Linked DNA regions of Homo sapiens: region 2 is linked to region 1. The links are contacts of gene promoters, found by promoter capture Hi-C in human tissues and cell types (Jung and others, 2019). All regions are on one chromosome and are shown on one strand. The core of a region is centred on a gene start or on the middle of the fragment in contact, and the rest is flanking DNA. Distances in the headings are between cores, read along the strand shown.

What was found. Contacts are between HindIII fragments. The study calls those that stand out against the background at their distance.
Region 2: a contact is called between a fragment that was not itself captured here and the fragment with the promoter of PABPC3 in region 1, in 1 of the 25 tissues and cell types used here (dorsolateral prefrontal cortex).

What each region holds. Positions count from the first base shown.
Region 1 is chr13:25,092,803-25,099,109 of GRCh38, forward strand. It overlaps PABPC3 (poly(A) binding protein cytoplasmic 3), which reads left to right and starts at 3,334. Exons shown (of 1, transcript NM_030979.3): 1 at 3,334-6,307. The coding sequence starts at 3,397. The coding sequence ends at 5,292. LOC124900613 (a long non-coding RNA gene) reads left to right here and starts at 2,818. Exons shown (of 3, transcript XR_941762.3): 1 at 2,818-2,857. RefSeq lists a silencer at 3,249-3,543. The HindIII fragment of the contact is 11,758 bases long and covers 1-5,850 here.
Region 2 is chr13:25,268,607-25,274,913 of GRCh38, forward strand. It overlaps MTMR6 (myotubularin related protein 6), which reads right to left. Exons shown (of 14, transcript NM_004685.5): 2 at 5,465-5,581. Among named protein-coding and RNA genes, the nearest start is that of MTMR6, 16 kb to the right of the region's middle. The HindIII fragment of the contact is 5,889 bases long and covers 1-5,779 here.

The sequences.
Region 1 (6,307 bases), core at 2,084-4,583:
TTATATTCCTTTGGGTATATACCCAGTAATGGGATTGCTGGGTCAAATGGTATTTCTGCCTCTAGATCTTTGAGGAATCACCACACTGTCTTCCACAATGGTTGAACTAATTTACACTCCCACCAACAGTGTAAAAGTGTTTGTTTTTCTCCACAACCTCACCAGCATCTGTTGTTTTTTGATTTTTAGTAATAGTCAGTCTGACTGATGTGAGATGGTACCTCATTCTGGTTTTGATTTGCATTTCTATAGTGATCAGTGATGTTGAGCTTTTTTTCATGTTCATTGGTCACATGTATGTCTTCTTTTGAGAAGTGTCTATTCATGTTCTTTGCCCAAAAGTGTGTATTTTTGTACTTCTCTATTTGGACAAGTACAGAAGTGTCATTTTGTATGTTTCTATTTGGACAATATGTGTAGGTGCAACATTTACAACCCCACTGTACAATCTGACACCATTGTCCACAATAATATGTCAACAGGGTAGCCTGACAGCCCATATTTGAGGCTTTCCACTTTTAATTCTTTTTTAAACATAAGAATCGACTTTATTCTGCCTTATTTGTGCATAAGACTACCTTCAGTATTATCTGACGACAAACCAAAGACTAGATGTTTTCTACAGATTACCAACTCTCCAGAAGAGAAGCAGTCAAACTTATAATTGCTAAAAATCATGAAATGAAAAGGAAGCTCCACAAAAGGGAAGAGGGAAAGTGTAGGAATTAGACATGGGGATTTCCATTCCCTGTTACTCTGGAAACCATGGTGACTGAGAGCTGTGATTAAACCATATAATATGCCGATATAAACTTAGAAGAATCTGGGAAAGAAGAAATTTCTCTGGCCAGGTGTGGTGGCTCACGCCTGCAATCCCAGCACTTTGGGAAGCCGAGGTGGGTGGATTGCTTAAGCTCAGGAGTTGGAGAGCTCAGGAGTTCCAGACCAGCCTGGGCAATATGGCAAAACCCCATCTCTACCAAAAATACAAAAATTAGCTGGGTGTGGTGGCATGTGCCTCTAGTCCCAGCTACTTGGGAGGCTGAGGTGGGAGGATCTCTTAAGCCTGGGAGGTGAAGGCTGCAGTGAGCTGCGGCCACTGCACTCCAGCCTGGGCAACAGAGTGAGGCCCTGTCTTCAAAATAAAAATAATAATAATAATAAATAAATCCCTTCTATCTATTCAGTTCCTTTTCCTTCCAGACAAAATTTTTCCACACAAATCAATTTGTTTGCTAACTGCATCAGGATTTTCTCTAAACCATAATACAATCGGCAGATTAGTTGTCCAGTGGAAATAACCTTCTCCTGTATGGTCTAGGCTTGTTTTAAATGCTCTACCATCACTGGGCTTGGGATTGCAATCCTCAAAACTTCTGGGAAATCTGAAAATGAAGTTACAAATTAAATCATAGGTCTCCAAGAAGCCTGGAATTTTGATACATTCATCCCGGTTTTCTTCCACCCAAGTGTATATTCCGTGGGCTGTATCTGTGGGGAATCTGCTTTCCTGCCCATGAACACACCGAAATGGTTCTGCGAAGATGCCTTTCTCTGGAAGAGCATTTTGCTTTTGTTAATGAGGCAGAAAATCGATCTCATATTGTTGAGTAACCACACCCTTCCTAGCACTTGGTTTTTACAAGACCACATTGTTGAAATGATGGACGTGCTCCTAAAAAGCTGTGTATCAACTTCATTTTTAAACTTTTAATTGAATTTTATATTAGTGGCAACCACTATTTAAAGAAACCCTCTACTCTAGGCTAGGCGCGGCGGCTCACGCCTGTAATCCCAGAGCTTTGGCAGGCGTAGGTGGGCGGATCACCTGAGGTCAGGAATTCTAGACCAGCCTAGCCAACAAGGCGAAACCCCGTTTCTACTAAAAACAATACAAAAATTAGCCAGGCGTGGTAGTGCCTGCCTGTAATCCCAGCTATTCGGGAGGCTGAGGCGCTAGAATCCCTTGAACCCGGGAGGTGGAGGTTGCGGTGAACCAAGATCGCACCACTGCACTACAGCCTGGGTGACAGAACGAGACTCTATCTAAACAAACAAACAAACAAAAAACCCTAAAATAAATTATTTGTAACATGAACAGAATGAACAGATCCTCCCCCAAACTGATATTTTTTGTGGGACTGGACCTTTCTTAAAGGATTTTCTTAAATAGAATTATTTCAGATCATCACTTACTTAGATGTGTAGCTATATTAGGTCACAAGATTGTGTACTTATAATCATAAAACGTATACTTAATAATGAATCCCAACCTGACCTCAAAAGACTATATCATATAATACTATATTAACATTACATATTTATTGGTCGGGCACGGTGGCTTACGCCTGTAATCCCAGCACTTTGGGAGGCCGAGGTGGGTGGATCACGAGGTCAGGAGTTCAAGATCAGCCTGGCCAAGATGGTGAAACCCCGTCTCTACTAAAAATACAAAAAATTAGCCAGGCTTGGTGGTGGGTGCCTGTAATCCCAGCTACTTTAGAAGCTGAGGCAGGAGAATCGCTTGAACCTGGGAGGTGGAGGTTGCAGTGAGCCGAGATCGCACCACTGCACTCCAGCCTGGGTGACAGAGCAAAACTCCGTCTCAAAAATAAATAAGTAAAATAAAAATAAATAAATGAAAAATAAAATTACATATTTATTATGTTTTATATTGTTATATAATATAAAAAGTCGGTTTTTCGGGGTTTTTTGTTTGTTTGTTTGTTTGTTTGAGATAGTCTCGCTCTGTCACCCAGACTAGAGGGCAGTGGCGCGATCTCTGCTCACTGCAACCTCCACCTCCCGGGTTCAAGCGATTCTCGTGCCTAGGCCTCCCGAGTAGCTGGGATTACAGGTGAGCACATCAAGCCCAGCTAATTTTTTGTAATTTTAGTAGAGACGAGGTAAAAAGTAGAAAATATTTTATAAAAATATATTTGTGTAAAGTAGAACATATATAAAAACATACTAAAGGAGAAAGGAGAAAAAAATTCTTTCATTTATTTTTTTCCCAGGCATTTTAAATTTGGATTATAAAAATCATTTTAGAAAAATCATTAATGCTCTTTTACAAAATAACCCGGTGAAGCAGCTGAGCCCGAGCCGCCCGCCAGCGGCCCCGCAGCAGCTCCAAGAAGGAACTAAGAGACCAAGGCCTTCCTGCTGCCCGGACCCGACACCGCTACCCTGGCTCCCCGCCGGCAGCCGGCAGCCAGCGGCAGCGGATCGACCCCGTTCTGCGGCCGTTGAGTAGTTTTCGATTTCGGCTGATTTTTGTCCCTCTGCGCTTGCCCCCGCTCCCCTCCCTCCGGCTACGCCCCCGGCCCCGGCACGCGCTCTACTCCTGTAACGGAAAGGTCGCGGCTTGTGTGCCTGCGGGCAGCCGTGCCGAGAATGAACCCCAGCACCCCCAGCTACCCAACGGCCTCGCTCTACGTGGGGGACCTCCACCCCGACGTGACTGAGGCGATGCTCTACGAGAAGTTCAGCCCGGCAGGGCCCATCCTCTCCATCCGGATCTGCAGGGACTTGATCACCAGCGGCTCCTCCAACTACGCGTATGTGAACTTCCAGCATACGAAGGACGCGGAGCATGCTCTGGACACCATGAATTTTGATGTTATAAAGGGCAAGCCAGTACGCATCATGTGGTCTCAGCGTGATCCATCACTTCGAAAAAGTGGAGTGGGCAACATATTCGTTAAAAATCTGGATAAGTCCATTAATAATAAAGCACTGTATGATACAGTTTCTGCTTTTGGTAACATCCTTTCGTGTAACGTGGTTTGTGATGAAAATGGTTCCAAGGGTTATGGATTTGTACACTTTGAGACACACGAAGCAGCTGAAAGAGCTATTAAAAAAATGAACGGAATGCTCCTAAATGGTCGCAAAGTATTTGTTGGACAATTTAAGTCTCGTAAAGAACGAGAAGCTGAACTTGGAGCTAGGGCAAAAGAGTTCCCCAATGTTTACATCAAGAATTTTGGAGAAGACATGGATGATGAGCGCCTTAAGGATCTCTTTGGCAAGTTCGGGCCCGCCTTAAGTGTGAAAGTAATGACCGATGAAAGTGGAAAATCCAAAGGATTTGGATTTGTAAGCTTTGAAAGGCATGAAGATGCACAGAAAGCTGTAGATGAGATGAATGGAAAGGAGCTCAATGGAAAACAAATTTACGTTGGTCGAGCTCAGAAAAAAGTGGAACGGCAGACGGAACTTAAGCGCACATTTGAACAGATGAAGCAAGATAGGATCACCAGATACCAGGTTGTTAATCTTTATGTGAAAAATCTTGATGATGGTATTGATGATGAACGTCTCCGGAAAGCGTTTTCTCCATTTGGTACAATCACTAGTGCAAAGGTTATGATGGAAGGTGGTCGCAGCAAAGGGTTTGGTTTTGTATGTTTCTCCTCCCCAGAAGAAGCCACTAAAGCAGTTACAGAAATGAACGGTAGAATTGTGGCCACAAAGCCATTGTATGTAGCTTTAGCTCAGCGCAAAGAAGAGCGCCAGGCTTACCTCACTAACGAGTATATGCAGAGAATGGCAAGTGTACGAGCTGTGCCCAACCAGCGAGCACCTCCTTCAGGTTACTTCATGACAGCTGTCCCACAGACTCAGAACCATGCTGCATACTATCCTCCTAGCCAAATTGCTCGACTAAGACCAAGTCCTCGCTGGACTGCTCAGGGTGCCAGACCTCATCCATTCCAAAATAAGCCCAGTGCTATCCGCCCAGGTGCTCCTAGAGTACCATTTAGTACTATGAGACCAGCTTCTTCACAGGTTCCACGAGTCATGTCAACGCAGCGTGTTGCTAACACATCAACACAGACAGTGGGTCCACGTCCTGCAGCTGCTGCTGCTGCTGCAGCTACCCCTGCTGTGCGCACGGTTCCACGGTATAAATATGCTGCGGGAGTTCGCAATCCTCAGCAACATCGTAATGCACAGCCACAAGTTACAATGCAACAGCTTGCTGTTCATGTACAAGGTCAGGAAACTTTGACTGCCTCCAGGTTGGCATCTGCCCCTCCTCAAAAGCAAAAGCAAATGTTAGGTGAACGGCTCTTTCCTCTTATTCAAGCCATGCACCCTACTCTTGCTGGGAAAATCACTGGCATGTTGTTGGAGATTGATAATTCAGAACTTCTTTATATGCTCGAGTCTCCAGAGTCACTCCGTTCTAAGGTTGATGAAGCTGTAGCTGTACTACAAGCCCACCAAGCTAAAGAGGCTACCCAGAAAGCAGTTAACAGTGCTACCGGTGTTCCAACTGTTTAAAATTGATCAGAGACCACGAAAAGAAATTTGTGCTTCACCGAAGAAAAATATCTAAACATCGAGAAACTATGGGAAAAAAAATTGCAAAATCTAAAATAAAAAATGCAAAATCTAAAATAAAAAATGGAAAGGAAACTTTGAACCTTATGTACCGAGCAAATGCAAGGTCTAGCAAATATAATGCTAGTCCTAGATTACTTATTGATTTAAAAACAAAAAAAAGATTACTTAATTTTGATTTAAAAACAAAAAATCGTAAAATACAAAAACCAGTTAATGTTTTGTAGACCCTGGGAAAAGAATTTTCAGCAAAGTACAAAAATTTAAAGCATTCCTTTAATTTTTTAATTCTTTACTGTGGAATAGCTCAAAATGTCCATTCTGTTTTAAGTAACAGAATTGATAACTGAGCAAGGAAACATGGTTTGGATTATAAAATTCTTGCTTTAATAAAAATTTCTTAAACAGTGAAAAAAAGAAAAATCATCAATTTTACTAATAGTCTTTCTTTACATTTTCTATTATTCTATCTCCCACTATATTTCAAATATGAAAATCACTTTTTCACCAAAATTTTAGGTCTTTACATAATAGTGTTTATTTTTAATATTCATAAATGAAAATATGCAATGACAAAATAGTAATTATAAATTCAGTAACATTTGTTCAAAATTGTAAGACAATTATTAATTTATACTGCATTATTTTTAAATAAAAAATAAATACATAGTTTTAAAAATCTAATTGAACAGGAGGCTAAACATGGTTCTGATCACAGAGATAATCACTTTTAATCATTTGGTTTTAGTGTTTCTGGTAGTTGATTTTCTTCAATAATAATTGTACATAGTTATTTCTTGGTTTATCAATTTTGTAATTTAACTATTGACTTCCTGCTGTAACAAATAAGGATATGTTTCATCTACCTCTTCCCACCATCCCTCCTCCTCCTCCCAATATAATTTATCACTACTTGTAGCTCCTTTATTGGTAATATTAATTAATATAAATATTT
Region 2 (6,307 bases), core at 1,585-4,084, 180 kb after region 1:
TTCCAAGTAAGTTAGGCCCCCTCCCTTTTCTTCCTGCAGATCAAGCTATACTTTTCCTTCACAGTGAAGGCCACTGTGAGGATGCCAGCTGCAGTGGGGGAGGTGCAGCCAGGGTTGCGCGCTCTGCAGAGCAGGCAAGACCTGGGAACAGGTGATCCCAGTGGAAGCCCCATACCCTACCGAGTTGGCAGGGCAGGAGCCACACTCCCGGGCACAGCTGCAGCCGCCCAGCCATGGCTCTGGACCCAGGCATCCCTGTGCTCTTGGGGGCCTAGGAAACCCCCTCCCCCTGCAGGTTCAGAAGTGCCTGCTCCCACTCCCTGGCCTCTCCCAACTCCCACTGCCTGTTCTGTGGTAGAGCAAAGTTGTGGACATGTCCCAATAGCCAAGCCCAGATACTGTCGTGATCTAGCTGGGTGTGCATGTGCTTGGGGCGGTACTGACACACCAGCCCCTAGCTGCCTTGGCCCCTCTGGAAACTGCTTCTGAGGCTGAAATTTTGGGTGCCCATGAGCACAGGAGGGAGGCTGAGGACCTTGGGGGTGGCATGGTGCAGAGTTGATCAACATTACATCTCCAGCACCTAACACAGTACCTGGAACATTATAATTGCCCTCCTCAAATCAAAAAGCTTGCAAATGTTATATATCACACACTTCAACTTTAATTTTTTAAATGTGAATGCCCAAGCCAGAAATATGGATGTCATCCCTGATACCTCCTTTATCACAATAAGAGTTTACTAAATGAATGAATAAAAAGTCCTACTATAAACTCAATACTTGATGGTATTTTAAACATATGCTTATTGTTCTCACCTACTACCAATAATATTTTGTTTGCTACTAAAAATGCCTACTTTTTCTTAATAACACTCCTATTAAAATATTTATAGAAAACTTTTCTGGAGAATAAAAGATCATAGGCTCCTAATCATGCAAGAGATCCATTTATCCCAAATTAATCTAAAAATTCAACATAAATTTCAGTTTAAAAATTCCAATCTGCTTTGTTTTGTAGTGAGGGATGATTATTTATATAATACACATATATTATGTAATTATTACATTATATGTTAATATTAATTATACATCTTAAATCTAAAGTTCACCTGCAAAATTAAATGCATTTAAATAATCAAGAAAAGCTTGAAAAACAATGAGAGAAGCAGTTGTCAATGGAAATTAAAACTACATAGAGAACAAATAATTAACACACACACACACATATATAGTCCTTACGGCTAAGATTTAGCACCATTATCACTTATATTAATGCGCCTGTGACAAGTTACTAAAAATGATCTAATAATAACATTTAAACAGAGAATAAGGAATAAAAGCTAACTGTAATATTACAAGTTGAGAACCCTTTATCCAAAATGTTTGGGACTAGAAGTATTTCAAATTTTGGATTTTTAAAGATTTTGGTATATTTGCATTATACTTATCAATTGACATCCCTAATCTGAAAATCTGAAATCTGAAATGCTCCAATGAGCATTTCCTTTGAACATCATGTCAGTGCTGAATTTTTGGATTGGGGATATTCAACCTGTACATCACTGTTCTGATTTTAATTATAAAAACCCAAAAGTATTTGCAGGAAGAAAATGATGAAGAAACCTGGTCCTACCACTAACTAGTTATGTGATTTTGAAAACATAATCAACTGTAAAGTGAGAAAAAGGATATAAGGTTGATACGGCCCCTTCTGGATCTAAAATGTTCATTTCTATGGCTCTAGTATATTAAACAAACTTCATTTAGGGCAAACATAAGGGAATATACTGATAAGAAAGCATTTAAAAGACAACAATAGGAGAGTAGAGAATAACACAGATATCTTTTTGTTGCCCCTCAAACTACATTCCCAGCAGCTGAGGGAATAGCTATACGGGAAGCCTTCATTTATATCTCTACGAGATGGATAATAGAGAAAATACTGAAGCAAGTGGACAAAGGAGGGGTAGATGGAGTGGATGATAATATGACTAATTATTTCAGAAGGTACTGCTAGGTAAAATTCCTGGCAATTCTTGGACAAACACTGGATGAAGAAGGGATCCAGTGCCTCTAGGGAATACAACTTCTCCAAGATCAGTATCTCAAGTGAGTTTCCTTAACAGCTGATATAGAATCATATATCAATTGGTTAGCCTTCTTGGGGAAATCAGAAGAGTACAATCAAAGAGAGAAAGAGAAGAGAACAGTATGACAGTATGTGCAGTACAGGGGTGTACCACAGAGCAACATCAATCTCTGGACTGGGAGGCATAATTGACCTCTAATCTTGATTCAACTGCTTAGAAAAATAGTATGAGCAGCTATGATTTACGCCACTACTATGTTTTACGCACAGATGTTTTTCATATTTTCTTTCATCTAAGACTCACAAAAGCCCTACATGATGACTGATGCTATATACCCATTTTATGTGGGTGCTAAGCTCGAAAGTTACATACTTTTTGGCAGACACTGTTGGTCTGCCATTCCTCCCCCCCTTCCTTACTTGCAACATCCTTTTCCCTCAAGAGATAAAAAATACTAGGATCTACATTCTCTGCCTCCTTTTCAGGTAGGAGTAGCCAAGTGTCCGGATTTTCAAACAATCAGATGTTAGGGAAAGTTAGCTGGGGGCCTTCTGAGAGAGCTTCTCCTCCCTGATAAGCAATGGGGCTACTGAGGAAAGCCTACCCACCTCTCCTGCTTTGCAAGGTTTGGCACCATGTTCAGTCAGGTATTCATTTACTTACAGCCAAAAGCACCCTGACATAGTCACCCAAGCAGTGAACAGCAGAGCTGACATTTGAACCCAAAGCTACCTGACAACACAGTCTACGTGAGCTCATTTTACTACTCTACACTGCCTGTGTAACAATGAATGAATTGCCACTTGCCTGAGCTTCAGCTTCTTCATCTATAAAGTGGAGGTTCTAAAAGCTGGCAGAGCTAGTGGCACAGAAACATGCCCAAGTCTCTTCCTCTCAGGCACAGAGACACAAGCCCCATATTCTAACCACCTTTCCTACTTCTTTTTCTGCTTAGCACTTATCACTATGTATTTTACTTATCTACCTACTTATTGGTGATGTTATCAATATCTTTCAGCACTAGAATGTTGGCTCCATGAGGATAGAATTTGTACCTGTTATTATTGGCTATTGTTTCCAAAATATCTAGAATAGTGATATGAAACACACTGTATATGCTCAATAAATGTGTGCTAAATGAATTCTAAAACAGAAAAGGAAGAACAAAGAATCCAAAATAGCCATGGCAATTTTGAAGAACAAGTTGGGAGGGTATGCTCTACTTGATATCAAAATTTATTTAAAAGCTATAGTCAATAAAACAGTGTGGTACAGTGTAGTCAGTATACCAAACGAATAGAAAAGAAAACTCAAAAGCAGAGCCTCACATACATGGAAGATGTTTTTATGACAGAGCTGGTACTAAAGACGAATGGAATGAAACAGTCAATAAATGGCGCCGGTCGTCTATACGAAAACATAAAAATGAATCCCTAGTCACATCATACACCAAAATATTTCCCAGATGTATTAACAACTTACAGGATCAAACTTAAGCTTTTAGAAGAAAATATAGAAGAACCTTTATGACTTTGACATAGGAAAGGATTTCTTAAGTCACAACAGAGCACAAACAATAAAAGAAAAAAATGAAAAATCTATAACATTAAAAATATAAACTTCAACTGAAAGACATATAAAATAAAAAACAGAGAAGACAAGCCACACACTGGGAAAAGCTATCTATGACACACACATCTGACAAAGCATTATAACCTAGAACTCTTTATTTGTTTTCTTGAATAATACTTTTTTTTTTAATTCAGTGGGTACATGTGCAGGTTTGTAATATGAATATACTGAATGATTCTGAGGTTTGAGCTTTGACTGAACCCATAGCCCAGACAGTGAACACAGTACCCAAGAGGTAGTTTTTCAACCCTTGTTCCTCTACTTCCCTCCCTCCCACCTCTATTAGTCTATTAATGTCTATTGTTCCCATCTTTGTGCTCGTATGTACCCAATGTTAAGCTCCCACTTATAAGTGAGAACACGCAGTATACGGTTTTTTGTTTGTGTTAATTCATTTAGAATAATGGCTTCCACCTGCATCCATGTTGCTGTAAAGGCCATGATTTTGTTCTCTTTTTATGGCTGTGGTGAATATGCACCACTTTTTCTTTATCCAATCCACTGCTAATGGGCACCTAGGTTGATTCCATAGCTTTGCTATTGTGAACAGCGCTGCAACAAACATGCAAATGCCCGTGTCTTTTTGGTTGATTTATTTTCCTTTGAGTATATATCCAGTAAAAGGATTGCTGGGTTGAATGGTAATTCTATTTGTAGCCCAGAACTTTTATAAAATCAATAAAAGACAAACAACCCAATAAAAAAAGAAAAGGAAACTCTTTCCTTTTTCTTTATCTGAAAAGGGTAAATTCTTTATAATCAGCTCATTAACATTACAATTGGACATCTACTAGATAGGCAAAAAATTTTAAATTGACAATATCAATGTTGTTGAGGATGTACAACATTGTGTAATACACTACTGAGAATAAATTGGAACAACCATTTTGAAGAGGTGACATACTTAGTAAGGTTATATATGCACTTATTCAAGACCCAATAATTTTACTCCCAGACAAATATCCCAGAGAAACTCTGGCAAATATACAGAAAGAAACATATACATATGTCTCATATAAATACACAAAATGTTGTTTACATGTATATGTACATTGCAACATTTATACTAGCAAAAAAAATAAGTACCCTAATTAAAATTTGTATAAAAACACTGTGGAATATACCAAACAATCCGTTTGATCTGTTAATGTGTACATATTTTTTAGATTTTTAAAAATTAAAAGGAACAATAGGATTTTTTTTTTTTTTTTTTGAGACAGAGTCTCACACTGTCACCCAGGCTGGAGTGCAATGGCGCGATCTCGGCTCACTGCAACCTCCGCCTCTCAAGTTCAAGCAATTCTCCTGCCTCACCCTCCCAAGTAGCTGGGATTACAGGCACCCATCGCCATGCCCAGCTAATTTTTTGTATTTTTAGTAGAGATGGGGTTTCACTATGTTGGCCAGGCTGGTCTTGAACTCCTGACCTCGTGATCCACCCACCTCGGCCTCCCAAAGTGCTGGGATTACAGGCGTGAGCCACCGCATCCGGCCTAGGAACAACAGGTATTTCATAATTATTTATGGAGATAAGAGTGTGGTATTTTATAGAATTCCATGTTACATATTCTATAACTGATTTATTAGAAGGGAGGGCAGGAGTGATCTGGAGACCAAAAAATATTTTGGTTGAGATAGGTAACCAATGATTAAAAATTGTGTTATACACATTCAAAATAAAACATGACAGACCAAGTCCATTATTATTATGATAAATAGTACAGCTGCGGTCCTCCTTACCCAGGTTTCTTTTTGATGAGAGTCGATAAATAATAGATGTGTAGCCGTAAGATACAGTGTTCCTGTTAATGACTTGTTGCTGGTACTGAATCGGTCAAGTAATTTTACTTGTTCGACCTAAAAGAAAAAAAGATATTATTTCTCATTTCAAAAGTAGTATAAATTATTTTTCTGTTAGCCCAGGACTTACATGCAACATTCTCAATTTTTTCTTCCTCCTAAAATCATAAGAGCTTATTTAATACTTACTGTTAAATTCCATATATCTTTTTGGGGAATGTATAAGCCACAAATAACATAGAGATTATTTACAGTTACAAATGTAACCAATAGAGAACCACATTGTAAAAAACAGTAACACTTATATTGAGGGTAGCAAGAAACAGGGGTACAGTACAAATAAGCAAAAACATTTTTCATACCCAAGAGTCAACATTTTTATCTAAAGTTGGAAAATCAAAAAATAAATATATTATTATCTAGTTTTAGAGTAAACTACCAGAAAAATTAAATCAGGAAACATTTAAATGGTTGCCAACTCCAACTTAGTCTCTATATTCTCTTCACTATCCCACACCAGGGCAATGATTGTTTTTTGTCCACCTCTGGGCTTTTACTCACACTGTTCTCTGTTTCTAAAATGGTCTCTTCTGCTTAGCTAAGTGGCAAGCATTCTTCAAGACTCACTAACATCCTGCCTCCTAACATTAATCCTTATTAGAAAATCAGTTCATTACTTATGTTTTGGCTTTGCATTCCTCTGCAGCTCTGAATTCCCTGGCATAGATTATGTCCTATGCTGCTTTGGCCTCCTCTACTGCCTGAGCTGATAAGGCACATAGT